Regions from separate parts of the Homo sapiens genome. Here regions 1 and 2 are each linked to region 3. Evidence: promoter capture Hi-C in 16 types of primary human blood cells and fetal thymus (Javierre and others, 2016). All regions are on one chromosome and are shown on one strand. Each heading gives the region's core, a stretch centred on a gene start or on the middle of the fragment in contact. The rest is flanking DNA. Distances are from core to core; before and after follow the strand shown.

What was found. Contacts are between HindIII fragments. The CHiCAGO score rates a contact against its expected background, and 5 or more counts as called.
Region 1: a fragment that was not itself captured here is called in contact with the fragment with the promoter of GABARAPL2 in region 3 in 2 of 17 cell types (M2 macrophages and fetal thymus); the score reaches 8.3 in M2 macrophages.
Region 2: a fragment that was not itself captured here is called in contact with the fragment with the promoter of GABARAPL2 in region 3 in 2 of 17 cell types (neutrophils and naive CD4 T cells); the score reaches 7.8 in neutrophils.

Annotation. Positions count from the first base shown.
Region 1 is chr16:77,217,141-77,221,720 of GRCh38, reverse strand. It overlaps the pseudogene VN2R10P. Among named protein-coding and RNA genes, the nearest start is that of SYCE1L, 20 kb to the right of the region's middle. RefSeq lists an enhancer at 1,136-1,245. The HindIII fragment of the contact is 3,666 bases long and covers 773-4,438 here.
Region 2 is chr16:74,290,260-74,294,783 of GRCh38, reverse strand. No RefSeq gene overlaps it. Among named protein-coding and RNA genes, the nearest start is that of PSMD7, 4.3 kb to the left of the region's middle. The HindIII fragment of the contact is 5,681 bases long and covers 434-4,524 here.
Region 3 is chr16:75,564,282-75,569,184 of GRCh38, reverse strand. It overlaps GABARAPL2 (GABA type A receptor associated protein like 2), which reads right to left and starts at 2,806. Exons shown (of 4, transcript NM_007285.7): 1 at 2,665-2,806; 2 at 2,278-2,333; 3 at 976-1,148. The coding sequence starts at 2,698. RefSeq lists an enhancer at 1,591-2,344 and a silencer at 2,334-2,743. The HindIII fragment of the contact is 5,212 bases long and covers 1,401-4,903 here.

The DNA.
Region 1 (4,580 bases), core at 1,356-3,855, 1.7 Mb before region 3:
CCCAGATGGCTGGAATCTTAGGCAATAGAGCTTACAGGGGAAGGGAAAGGAATGCCCGTGAAGGCAAACAATCTCCAAACTGGAAAATTAGGCAAGATTGTTGGCTGAAGACACTGGGTTATGTAGGTTGTTATTACATAAAAAGGAAGAGAAATGCCGCATGAAAGATTACATACATTGAAGAAAAAGGCATGGATGGGAAATGTCCATAACATTCACACTATGAAACAGGATAACTGAGAGTGGTATTGCTCTTAATTCCTTTAAAGACATGAGACTGACTTTATCTTCGGAGGTAGTGAGTTTGATTCAATTATTAACTTGCATCTGATTGTGATAATAGTGAATTTTTAAATTCAGGATGTCGCCTCTTTTTTTTTCCCCCTTTTTTGAAATAAAACTCTGGAATTCTTACTGCTTCCAGAACCTATTTTAATCTTCAGACCTTGGAAGGTATTCATATCTCATAAGAGTAACGTAATATATGGGGGCAAAGATGCAGCCAAGTAGCTCAGCACTGAAAGCTAAGATGAAGAAGAACCCCATGGCTTCCAGGACCTTCCCCTTGATGCTGTGGTCGGCAAGGAGGGAGGTGACTGCAGAACACCAGCATGCTGAACATCAAGAACTTGACTTATTGAAGGTGTCAGGCAAACCCATGGCCAGGAAAGCCAAGGTAAAGCTCCCCAGGGTCAAGGAGCCCAGGTATCCTAGGACATGGTAGAAGACAGTGCTGAAACCTCACTGCGTGTGAGAACTACAGATCCAAGCTTAGAGAGTGTGTCTGTGTCAATGAAGGGAGGAAAGTTTCTCAGCCCGAGCTGACAGATCAGGAGACAGATTCCACTTGGATTAGGGAGAATATAAAAAGGGCAAAATTAGGAGATCCTGATACCAATCACCATCTTATTCTCCCTGGCATTCTGGCCTTCAGAGCCAGAACTACAGTGATGGTTTTGGTCAGAATGATAGAAATAGCCATAGTAAACACAACTCCAAATGCTATTTGTTGGAGTCACCACGTAGCTGTGTGGGGGTGGCCAATGCATAGGGCAGAGCAGAGGAAGCACAGTGTGACGGAGGCCAGACTTTCAGCAGGGTGCAGCTGAAAGCCCATGTACTGGCTTTAACCGAGGGGATTTCCTGCTGCTTCACAAATACCCCAAGGACCACTGCAGTAAGGACAGAGAGGCAGGGCTGTGCAGGCCAGAGACATCCCCAAAGGGCCTTCAAAAGCCAAGAAGTTCACATCCTTTGGAAGACAGTAAATTCTCTGACTATTCTGATATTGATCATCTGGACACTTCTTATACTGAATAGTATCTGAAAAACAAAGCAATGGTTTTTTGTTCAAGATTCATAAATCCTTACTGATTCCCAGAAACAAAAAAGTCATTTTTGGCCTTGTAGGGCACCTTGTCCATCTCAGTGCTATACTCAAATGTCATGCTTTTTAGCATGTTACAGAAGCAATAATTTCAAACTAACATGCCAATTCTCTCCTTGGTTTTATTTCCCAAAATAACATTTTCTCTCATTGTTCATTTCTCCACATGCCAACGAATTATTTTCCATTTTCTTTCATAATGAAAGCATTATACTCCCTTAAAAATTTAAATATCCATTCTCTAGGCCAAGAGTCCACAAACTATAGCCTACAGGTCAAATCTAGCCATTAGTAATTTTATAGGGCTTATAATCTATGAATGTTTTAATACTTTTAGATGGTTGCATTTTAAATGGTTATACAAGTATTTACATACTTTCAATTTCACCTCTTGGCTTGCAAAGTCTAAAATATTTACTATTTGGCCCGCTAAGAAAAACATTTCCTGACCTCTGCCTTCTCCTGGATTATTTACACAAATGACAATTATTTTCTAAGAATTTACACTGAACCAGATGCCTTATTAAGAATGGGGACCTGTTCAACTTTTAACAGGTATCAAAGAGGCCCTCAGGTTCTAATAGCTAAATATTTCTTAGTGTATCCCTTCCACATTTCGAGGTAGAATTCCATCAGCTTGATGTGGCAGGAAAGGTCTTAATCATCTTGTTTGTACATAGGTTTCTGGCCTTATCTTTTGTCATAAACTAAACACTGGATCAAAAGATTCTGATGTAGAGATTTATGTATCATACTCACAGTGCTCATGCCTTCTCGCTTTGCCATGACCTTCTTCAACAGGGAGTTTCTTTTGCTCTCTTCTTTGCTTGACTAATTCCTACTTGCCTTTAACAACGTAGTCAACATTACCTGCATTAGGATGTGCCTGCATGCCTCCCCACACTCTAGTATGTACCTGTGTCTTTGAACCCTTTGTCCTGGGTTGCCTTCCTCATTAGGCTATGAATTATCAATGACAGTATAGTTTTATTAAACAAACCCTGAAAAATTAGATACCTAAATAGACAGTCAAGTAAAGAAACATACGAAGAAAAATATTCCTAAAAATACATTTATTGTCCGGGCGTGGTGGCTCACGCCTGTAATTCCAGCACTTTGGGAGGCTGAGGTGGGTGGATCACCTGAGGTCAGGAGTTCAAGACCAGCCTGGCCAACATGGTGAAACCCCATCTCTACTAAAAATACAAAAAATTAGCTGGGCATGGTGGCAGGTGCCTGTAATCCCAGCAATTCGGGAGGCTGAGGCAGGAGAATTGCTTGAACCCAGGAGGCAGAGGTTGCAGTGAGCCGAGATAGTGCCACTGCACTCCAACCTGGGCAACAGAGTGAGACTCAGTCTCAAAAAAAAAAAATTACTGTAGCAACATTATTATCAGGTAAAATAGAATTCAAAGAGATATACAGAGGAGAAGAACACATAAAATAAAAATTAGGCCAGGTGCGGTGACTAACGCCTGTAATCCCCGCACTTTGGGAGGCCAAGGCAGGCGGATCACCTGAGGTCGGGAGTTGGAGAACAGCCCGACTAACATGGAGAAACCCTATCTCTTCTAAAAATACAAAATTAGCTGGGCATGGTGATGCATGCCTGTAATCCCAGCTACCCAGGAGGCTGAGGCAGGAGAATTGCTTGAACCCGGGAGGCGGAGGTTGTGGTCAACTGAGATCACACCATTGCGCTCCAGCCTAGGCAACAAGAGTGAAACGCTATCTCAAAAAAAAAAAAAAAAAAAACTAAACAGATAAAACAGACTCTTTTCTCCTTTAGAAGGCTCAATATAATGATACTAATTTCCTGCATGTTAATGTATATATTTCATTCAATACAAATATCAAATAATAATAGGGGTTTTTTGTTGTTGTTGCTGCTGTTTAATTTTTTTTGAAACAGAGTCTCACACTGCCACAAGGCTAGAGTGCAGTGGCGTGATCTCTGCTCACTGCAACCTCCGCCTCCTGGGTTCAAGTGATTCTCCTGCCTCAGCCTCCCTAGTAGCTGGGACTACAGGCTTGTGCCACCACATCCAGCTAATTTTTTGTATTTTTAGTAGAGACAGGGTTTCACCATGTTAGTCAGGATGGTCTTGATTTCCTGACCTCATAGTCTGCCTGCCTCTGCCCACCAAAGTGCTGGGATTACAGCTGTGAGCCACTGCGCCCAGTCAGGTTTTTTGTTTTTTTGTTTTTTTTTTTTTTTTGGAAATAGACAATATGATTCTAGAGTATGCATAGGAAAGAAACTACCCTTGAAAAATTCTGAAACAGTAGGAAAATATAGAGGAGGTCTCACCAAGTGAGTTTCATAATATTATTTAAGGGTATAATAATAAAAAGTTTGGTATTTGTGTATAAATAGGTAACTAGATAAAGGAATAGAATAAACAGTTCAGAAATTGACCAAAATAGACATGATTATTTGGTATATGGCGAGGATGGCATTGCAGTTGGGGGGATACATGTGCTATTCAGTAAATTCTCTCCAGATTATGTACAGACACAAAATAAATTCCAAATAGTTCAAATATAAACTAAATTATAAAAGCATTAGGGCCCGGGAGCAGTGGCTCACACCTATAATCCCAGCACTTTTGGAGGCTGAGGTGGGTGGATCACCTGAGGTCAGGAGTTTGAGACCAGCCTGGCCAACATGGTGAAACCCCGTCTCTATTAAAAATACAAAAATTAGCTGGATGGGATGGTGGGTGCCTGTAATCCCAGCTCCTCGGGACGCTGCTACAGAATTGCTTGAACCCAGGAGGCAGGGCTTGCGGTGCGCCGAGACTGCACCACTGTACTCCAGCCTAGGCAACAGAGCGAGACTCCATCTTACTAAATAAATAAATAAATAAATAAATGTATTAGAAACGGTGACTTAACATATGGTGGGCAGGAGGGTGGGCAAGTGGTCTCTTCAGGGCAGGGTCCTCGCTAGTGCTGTGGGCACCAGAAGGGGAAGAACAGCCATGTGCTCTCCTCTGGGTAGTAGGATACTGAAATTGGGATATTTTGGGGTGTATGTTTTTTGAAGCTTTGACTGTGATTTTTAAACAATAAAATGTTCTAAAAATATAAAGGTAACCACTGAGAAAGATATTTAATCTCAGAGTGGAAGAGAAATTTATAGGTAATGGGCATTTTAGATAATGTAGGTTTAATAAGACTTTAGAAATAA
Region 2 (4,524 bases), core at 2,025-4,524, 1.3 Mb after region 3:
GGAACTCCTGAACTCAAGTGATCTGCCTGCCTTGGCTTCCCAAAGTGCTGGGATTATAGGTGTGAGCCACTGCACCTGGCCCCTAGTTTACTTTTATATTATCATTGTCTTGAAAAGTGCCTGGCACATAGGAGACATTCAGTAATTACTATATAAATGAATAATTAGTTATGATAGTGAAATGGAAGATGACAATAAGGCTCAGACATTGGGAAGGATCTTTCCAAGATCACATTGCTGGTCAGGATCAAGCCAGGTTTCTGTGACCCCAGTTCCTAATTGGTTGGTGTGCCTGCTTGCAGCAGTCTTAGGCAAAAGAATTGCATTAATTTTATTAAGATACTAAATTTCAAACTTTAGAAAGTGATATATTTTATTTCACACTGAGTTCACTTTGCAGTTGTACTAAGCCTAAGCAAGCTGTTTCGAAGCTTATTGGGTGTCTCCAATCCTGACTCACTGAAGCAGTGTGAAACTGACTATGAGCTTAAAAAATTATTCTAGTTACACATGATCATTGTGGAAAAATGACACTATTCAGATAAATAAAAATGAATATAGAGCTGGGCATGGTGGCCTGTGCCTGTAATCCCAGATACTTGGAAGGCTGAGGTTGGAGGATCACTTGAGCCCAGGAGTTCATGACCCTTCCGAACAGTAGGACCTTGTCACAAATAATTAATTAATTGAAATAAATTAAAATCACCTGAAATCGTACCACATACAGAAAACTAAGATTAACCCTGGCCCAAAGTGCTTTTTTTTTGAGACGGAGTCCTACTCTGTCACCGGGCTGGAGTGCAGTGGCACAATCTCGGCTCCCTGTAACCTCCGTCTCCCAGGTTCAAGTGATTCTCCTGCCTCAGCCTCCCAAGCAGCTGGGACTATAGGCGCATGCCACCATGCCCAGCTAATTTGTTTGTATTTTTAGTAGAGACAGGGTTTCACCATGTTGGCCAGGAAGGATGGTCTCGATTTTGTGATCTGCCTGCCTCAGCCTCCCAAAGTGCTAGGATTATAGGCGTGAACCACCGCGCCTGGCCTAAAGTGCTGTATTTCTTAAGGGATTTCAGCATTAGCTTCCTAATTTCTCTTTTTGCCTTCCAGTTTTGACCTTCTCCCATCTCCATCCTCCACTCTGCAGCCAGACTTATTTTATTGATTGATTGATTGATTGAGACTGAGTTTCACTCTTGTTGCCCAGATCTCAGCTTGCTGCAACCAACACCTCCTGGGTTCAAGCGATTCTCCCACCTCAGCCTCCCTAGTAGCTGGGATTAGAGGTGCCCGCCACCACGCCTGGCTAATTTTTGTATTTTTAGTAGAGACGGGGTTTCATCCTGTTGGCCAGGCTGGTGCTGGGATTACAGGCATGAGCCACTGTGCCCAGCCTTATTTTAACATTTTTAATTTGTTATTTTTTTAAAAGAGTTAGGGTCTCACTCTGTCACCAAGGTTGGAGTGCAGTGGTGCAATCATTAGCTCACTGAAGCCTTGAACTTCTGGGCTCAAATGATCCTCCTGCTTTGGCCTCCCACAGTGTTAGGATTATAGGCGTGAGCCATGGTGCCCAGCCCCAGACATATTTTTAAAACACCCTTTTTAATGGAAAATCCCTACCCTGTGCAAGAGTAGGGAAAATAGTATAATAAAGCCCATGAACCTGTTACTGAGCTTCAAGTCTCCCTCACTTTTCTTAGGTGAACCCTAGTTCCTCTCCTTAAAGGTAGTCACTGGCTACTAGTTTCTGGCGAATCTTTCGGAAAGTTTTTTAAAGATGTATCTTTTGGCATCTGTATGCATAGCTTTCAAAATATGCAAATGGGCTCGGCGCTGCGGCTCACGCCTGTAATCCCAGCACTTTGGGAGGCCGAGGCGGGCTGATCACAAGGTCAGGAGTTGGAGACCAGCTTGGCCAACATGAGGAAACCCCATCTCTACTAAAAATACAAAAAAAAATTAGCCATGCATGATGGTCGGTGCCTGTAATCCCAGCTGCTTGGGAGGCTGAGGTAGGAGAATCACTTGAACCTGGGAGGCGGAGGTTGCAGTGAGCTAAGATCCTGCCACTGCACTCTAGCCTGGGTGACAGAGTGAGACTTCATCTCAAAAAAAAAAAAAATGCAAATGGAGTTTAACTCTACATAAAGTTCTGAAATTTGCTCTTTTGAGTTAATAATTTATCATTAACACACTTCCTTATAGCAAATCTAGGTCTACATCATCATTAATAGCTGCATAGAATGGATTTGATTTCTTCATAATAGATGCCTTCATCTACTCAGAGGCCCAGCTACAACATCATTCTCCATCAGCCTCTGTAGGCCTGGAAAGGGCAAAAGCTGTGCCAACGGTGTTTCTAGAATCTTTAATTTTTCCACTTAGATAATGACTCTTTTGCACTGTAAACTTTGGCAGTCTTCTATAACCAGTATCTCTGATGTTTTTCTCAATACTCACTTAACAATTTAACTCTGTGCCACTCTTCTAAATACTGGTTATATAGGAATAAACAAAACAAAGCTCTTGCCCTCTTTGAACTTATAGTCTTGTTAGAGGAGATAGACTATAAGCAAATAATAAATGTAAATCCTGTATAATATCCCATATGGTGTCAGAAAGTGTGCTCAGTCTGTCAGACATGCTCACCATGATCAAATGTGCCAGGCCCCAATGAATCATGCATCTGGCCTTCATGCCCTGGTTATCTCCTCCAAAATTGACTGTGAGCTTGGGCATGTGACTTGCTCTGGCACATGAGATATTAGCAAGTGTAATACAAACAGAGGCTTGAGTAACACTCTCATGTTGCAGCTTGTTCTCTTGGAATGCCCACTCTTGGAACCCTGAGTCATGTAGAAAAATCTGGCTACTTTGCAGGAGAGACCATATGGAATAGAAGAGGAATGCTTGGCCATTCCCCAGCTATTCCAGCCATTACAGGCAGGGTCCCAAGAAATGAGAGTGAAAAAACCACTGTGGATATTCCAGCCCTAGTAGATAGCATGTGGAGCAGAAGAACTGCCCAGCTGAGCCCAGCCCAGGTTATAAAATTCTGTGAAATAATAAGTCATCGTTGCTGTTTTAAGTCACTAAGTTTTGGGTGGTTTGTTGTGCAGCAACAGATAACAGAAACACTAGGCAATTTGTGAATTCTTTGTGAACCTAAGGTTCTTGGTAAATCCATTATCTGCCACTCAATGCTTGGTTATATAGCTGCTCCCTAAATGTGAGCTCCGTCACTTACTTTCTCTGTTATTTGCTGCATTTACTCTTTCATTTGAGGGTTATTTAGGCCTGTCATGGAATATCGCTCAGCTCAAGTGATATGATCAGAATCTGAAGAGGTTCCTCAAGCTAGGTAGCATTTTGGAAACATTCCAGCAGGACTGAGTTTGAGAGTGTGGAGAAACTGGAACATGGTAGAGAATAAATTCTTGATGCCTCTGGCACCCTTCCCTGTAATCTTTCTCCCTGTCGTCTCCGACTGTGAAGGTAATAGAAAAGAGCGTGGGCTGTGAGTCAGATCTAGATTTGAATTTTGCTTTTCCTATTCACTGGCTAGGATATTTTAAATGGGTCACTTAATCTCTCTACACCTCAATTTCCTCTATGTAAAAGAGGGATAATAATAGTGCCTGACTCGGGTGAGGGGAGCCAGGGATGGGAGACTACTGGGCTGTCCTGAGCAGAGACATATTTAAGAGAGTAGTGAGAAGTTTATGTTGGTTGGGTAGGACCAGTTTATAAAGGGCACAGGATTTTTATTGTAAGTCAGAAAGTGATATGAAAGAAGTGACATTTTTAGAAGATTAATCTAGTAGTAGTATGCAAAGTAGATTCACAGAAAGAGAGCTAGTGCTGGATGTGGTGGTGGCACCTGTAGTCCCAGCTACTTGGGAGGTTGAGGTGGAGTTCAAGACCAGCCTGAGCAACATAGTGAGACCTTGTCTCTGAAAAAAGAAATAATTTTTTTTTTTAAGAGAACAAGGAATCAGGAAAGCTCTGTTAGGAGGAATTTTAAATAATTTAGTATGAGGTGACAAATACCTGGGGTGGCAGAGGGAACAGAAAAAGAAACAGGGAGATGCATTTCAGAGAAAAATGGACAGAAAATGGTGATTGATTGCCTGTGAAAGATGAAGGAATGGATAATAAAAAATTACTTCAAAGTTCCCTGGCTGGGTGGCATGGCTCAAGGCCAAGGTAAGAGGATTGCTTAAGGCCAGGAGTTTGAAACCAGCCTGGGCAACATTTCAAGACCTTGTCTCTCCAAAAAAAAAAAAAAAAAAAAAATTAGCCAAGCATGGTGGCATGCACCTATAGACCTATAGTCCCAGCTACTACTTGGGAGGCTGAGGTGAGAGGATTGCTTGAGCCTAGGAGTATGAGGTTACAGTGAGCTATGATTGTGCCACTGCACTCCAGCCTGGGGGAGAGAGTGAGACTGTCTCTTAAATAAATGAAAATGAAAACTCCTGCTGTTTCATAATTTTCTTTTTTAATTTTTGAAAATATACTTAC
Region 3 (4,903 bases), core at 1,557-4,056:
AGAAATAAGGTCTGGAATTTGGCACAGGCCTCTTCTGGAGTCTTCAAGGATTTTCAACAGGAACCTATTTGGACAACATTGGGCTAGTTCCCAGGGCTTCTGAGAGCCTTCACTTTTAGAAGTATTACTTCTGGGAGTGGTAAATGAAACCTAGATTGGGTCACAAAGATAAGATGTGGCCAGAAACTCACACTCAGGGGAGAGGTGGGGGCTGGAATCTGGATCAGGGCCTACAACTACCCACTCAGTAACGGGAAAGGACTGACCAGGAGGTTAGACGGAGCCCATCCACTTTCCTTTTTCCACAGGGGACTAAAGCTGGGCTGTCAAACACACAGAAAACGGGAATTCTAATGCCTCTGCCTACATTCAGGCCACAAGTTACAGTCCCAAAGATTGCTTCCAGGCAGCACAATAGTCTGACAGTCAAAGCAAGTGCTACCAAGGGAGGTATAAGTCTGTAAAGAGACTTCAGAGCCCTTTACTGTGCCGCAGTCATTTTGTCAGACTTGAGGATCAGGCAGCTATAGACTCTTACAATGTCAAAGAGTTGACCAAGTTTGGGAGCAAGCAAACTGGATGATTAACTGAGTGAGCCTCAGCAGGGCCCACAGGCTCCCAGTGGAGGAGCATGCCAGGACTGCCTTCAGGGAAGAAAACCTCATTTCAGGCCTCAGTTCTACCTATAGCTTAAGACTAAATAAGTTCTCAACCGTTTTAAAAGATTCTTGGAGATCTTAGGCTGAGTTTCATCATTTTTTTAAAAGTCCAGGCCTTGTTCTATTTTCTGAATCCAAAATGCACTCTTATGTATTGCAGCCATTATTTTCCTGGAGCCCCTGATGTCAGGGAGCATAAAATCCAGATTTCTAGTCAGGACCCCTAAGAGTTTTCAGACTTCCAAAGTTTTGGAGTTCCGTAAGCAGCCAACCAGATGTCTAATACCAGAGGGCCCATCTAGTAAACACCTCTCACCTGGACTGTGGGACTGTCTTATCCACAAACAGGAAGATCGCCTTTTCAGAAGGAAGCTGGATCCTTTTCCTGATGATCCACATGAACTGAGCCACAGTGATATCAGATGGAACCAAGTACTTCCGTTTGTCAATGTCAACAATCTGAGAGCCTGAGACCTTTTCCACAATCACCTGGGAAAGTAAAGAGAGGTCAGGACTGTGTTTCCTAAAGCGAGGCTCTGGCCTCACATGGCTGAGGAGCTGATGAACAGAGTGTGGGCAAGGAGGTGGGTGGGGAACTGCATAGCAGGAGAAAATATGTCTTTGGCTTAATAAACCACACGCTCTGGAGGTTAAGAATTGATATAAATGTGTTACAGGGAAACAGTAAGTGCTTTTCTGTGGTCAATTATGTAAGAGAAATGCAGCCCTTACCACTAAGCTTTTCCACATTTTATCTGGGCAGACCTAAGAATATCTGGGGAGGGTTTCATCCATGGCCCGTTACTCCAGGACCCCAGAATGGATCCACCTTCACACTACAGGAAACACTACTGTGTTCCCAAGGAACACAGGAGACAAGAATGGATGGACTAATTGGAATGCCTGGAATTTTAGCCAGCCAAGAACCAAGTTCTTCATTTGGCCTGTTGCTCCTCTCTGAACAAGTTTCAAATCCGTCCCTCCTACTCCTTTCCCCAGACAAATTATTCACAAGCAAAGAGCTACAATAACAGGCCTTAATGTCCATTAAAAATTAATAACGATTACAAAACTATCTCCCCAACCATGGAAGAAATATAACATTATATTTATTATTGACTAAGAAGAAAATATGGCAGAAGGGGTTTTCAGCGGCTTTTCACATTATTTTGGTCAGGCAAGGATGACAGGGTCAAGGTGAGATAACGGAGCTAGAAGTTAGGTAAAGATGGAGACAAAGTAAAAGATGAACGTCCTGAGACTCAAGTACCACTTCCAAGACCAAAATGACAGTCTCCCTCCACCACCATTCCCAAAAGTGGCAGTGACCTGTTGCCCTGTCCTAGAACATCGTTCCTTACATAATTGGCCAGGGAGCCCCGAGGCTGCAGACGGCTCGCTGGCCTAGATCGGGAGATTCAGCACTGAGGCACCCTGAACAGCACCAGCCCGAGCCCCTCACGCCCCGGCCCTGGGCGGCCTCATCCCGGTCTGGCCCGTCAGCTACTGTAACTGGGACTGGAACCTCAACTTGTCAACTGTTGAATGGCCTGGGGCCTATCACGGGTCCCAGACGACAGAGGTGACAGCGAGGTGAGGGGGCGGAGAGTCCACTCACCGGAACCCTGTCGGGATATTTCGCTCGAATCTTCGCGGACTCCACGCATCTGTGTTCTGTGGGAGAAACAAACGGGGCTGACGGCCGCGCCTGCCCACCGGTCGGTTCCCGGCCCCCGGCCCTCCTCCTCCTGCGCCCTGCGTACAACCCAGGCCCTGGTTCCGGCGTCCCCGGGGCCGCGGTCCTGTCCCCTACTAGCTCCCAGCAAGGCCCGCGGAGGGTGACATGGGGTCAGGGGGCCGCTGCCCGAGGCACCAGGGCATGGGCGACTCCAGCCCGCAGCAGGGCATCCGCCCCGCTCCACTCGGCCCAGGGCCGCCCGAGTGGGGGAGGGGGCCCACCCGCCGCCCCAGCCCCCAGCAGCCGGGCCGACGACCAAGTGCTTACCCAGCGAGTGGTCCTCCTTGAACATCCACTTCATGGCGGCGGCGGGAAGGGGACGGAACCGGCTCGCGGAGCCGCGGAGCTCAGCGCACCGAGCACAACAACAACGACGGCGGCAGCGGCAGCGGCAGCGACGGCGGCGACTACACGGCAGGCGGGACTTCCGGCTGTCGGAGCCTAGCAACCGGCCGGGGGCGGGGCTTCCGGCGCCATTTGTCAGGGCGCCACGCCAAGGGGCGGGGCCGCACGTAAAGGGGCGGGGCCGCGGAGGACCCCTTTGGGGGCTCCTGGGCTGCGGTGGCGAAGAAGTTGGTTATGGGGACGTCTGTGAGCAGTATCTGCGACATTGCTCGCAGGAATGTTCGGGGAACTGGTGACAGGAGTGGGGTCTCGGGAGCGTTGGTGGCGGAAAACGTCTGGCTGATAGTGTAGGGCTCTTACTGAGGGCTGTTTGGGGGTGTGGCTGATAGCTGAGGGCTCTTAGAGCGGTTCATAGGGGAAGTCTGGGGAATTGGTGACAAGAACGGTCTTTAGGGGTAAGAATGACATAAGGAGGGCTTTCTAGAGCTTGGCGATAACAAGGGAGCTGTTTAGGGCGTTGACAGTTTGGGGAGTATTGCTCGGAGTGGTGACAGGTTGGGGGCTCATTATGGGAGGGGAGGGTGTTTGAGGACACTGTTGGAAGCGGCACTGAGGACAACCCGGAGGTCCGTATTAGGGACAGCCGTAGTAGGTTGTCTTGGACCTAGAAATTGAATTTAAACAAATCCCGTTTTCTTCCTTTATTCGTGAATAAATATTTGAATAAACATTTACGAAAAGGTATCACAAATGCACATTTGAGGCGGGGTACGGTGGCTCACGCCTGTAATCCCAACACTTTGGGAGGCCGACGCGGGTGGATCACCTGAGGTCAGGAGTTGAAGACCAGCCTGGCCAACATGGTGAAACCCCGTCTCTACTAAAAATACAAAAATTAGCCAGGCATGGTAGTGGGCGCCTGTAGTCCCAGCTCCTCGGGAGGCTGAGGCAGGAGAATCGTTTGAACCAGGGAGGTGGAGGTGGCAGTGAGCCGAGATCACACCACTGCACTCCAGCCTGGGCAACAGAGCAAGACTCCGCCTCAAAAAAAAATGCACATTTGAGGAGTGTAACATCACTGATCACAGACCCCTTAATTTTAACTGGCAGAGGAGTTAGAGGTGACTGTCAGACTCGGAGAATTCCCCTGAGAGCTGGTCATGAGATGGGTTTCCTTATTTGGCTGTGGGAGTGGTTTAGCAATCACAGCCTGAGCTGTGTGTGTGTCACCTGCCCGGACATATGCTTTGAGGTTCTCCAATCAGTGATGTAATGCCTTTTTTCCAAGCAGACTCATCAAGGCAGTCTGGTCTGGGTCACCATCTGTTTATAAGCTGCTGAACATGTAGCAGGAATATTCACTTAATTGGGCACATGAACCCTGCCACGTGCTTGTGATTCTGATGCACCTGTAAAGCCTGTATGTTTGAATGTGGTAGTTCATCATTTCCTACACTGGAAATTCCTGATCGATGCTGTGGAATCTAGCTTCATTCTATAAGTATTTTTGTTATTTTAAGACTGTGTGTCTGAGTAACTAGAATAGGTTTTTTTGTTTCTTTGTTTTTGTTTTTGTTTTTTGGAGACAGGGTCTTTCTCTGTCACCCAGGCTGGAGTTCAGTGGCACAATCTTGGCTTACTGCAGTCTGCCTCCTGGGTTCAAGCGATTCTGCTGCCTCAGCCTCCTGAGTAGCTGGGACTACAGGGACACACCACCACACCCAGCTAATTTTTGTATTTTTGGTAGAGATGGGGTTTTGTCATGTTCGCCAGGCTGGTCTTGAACTTCTCACCTCAAGTAAGTGATTTGCCCGCCTCGGCCTCCCAAAGTGCTAGGATTACAGGTGTGAGCCACTGCATCTGTTTGTTTGTTTTTAATGAAGTGGAAAAAATCCTTTGAATTTCCTACTTAGAAATTATTGTTACATACAAGAGCTCTGTGCTAGGTGCTGGGGAAAAACAGTGAAGAAGACAGATGACATCCCTATTCTCATGGGTGGCAGCATGAGATATTCTTGTCCCCCTGACATATTCTAGTGGGATAAGACAAAAAATAAGTATGTTAGGTAATGATAGGTGCTATTTCGAAAAATAAAGCACAGTAGGTGACTAGAGAGTGTGGTGGGATGGAATGCTAATTAGATAAAGTGCCTGGCATATT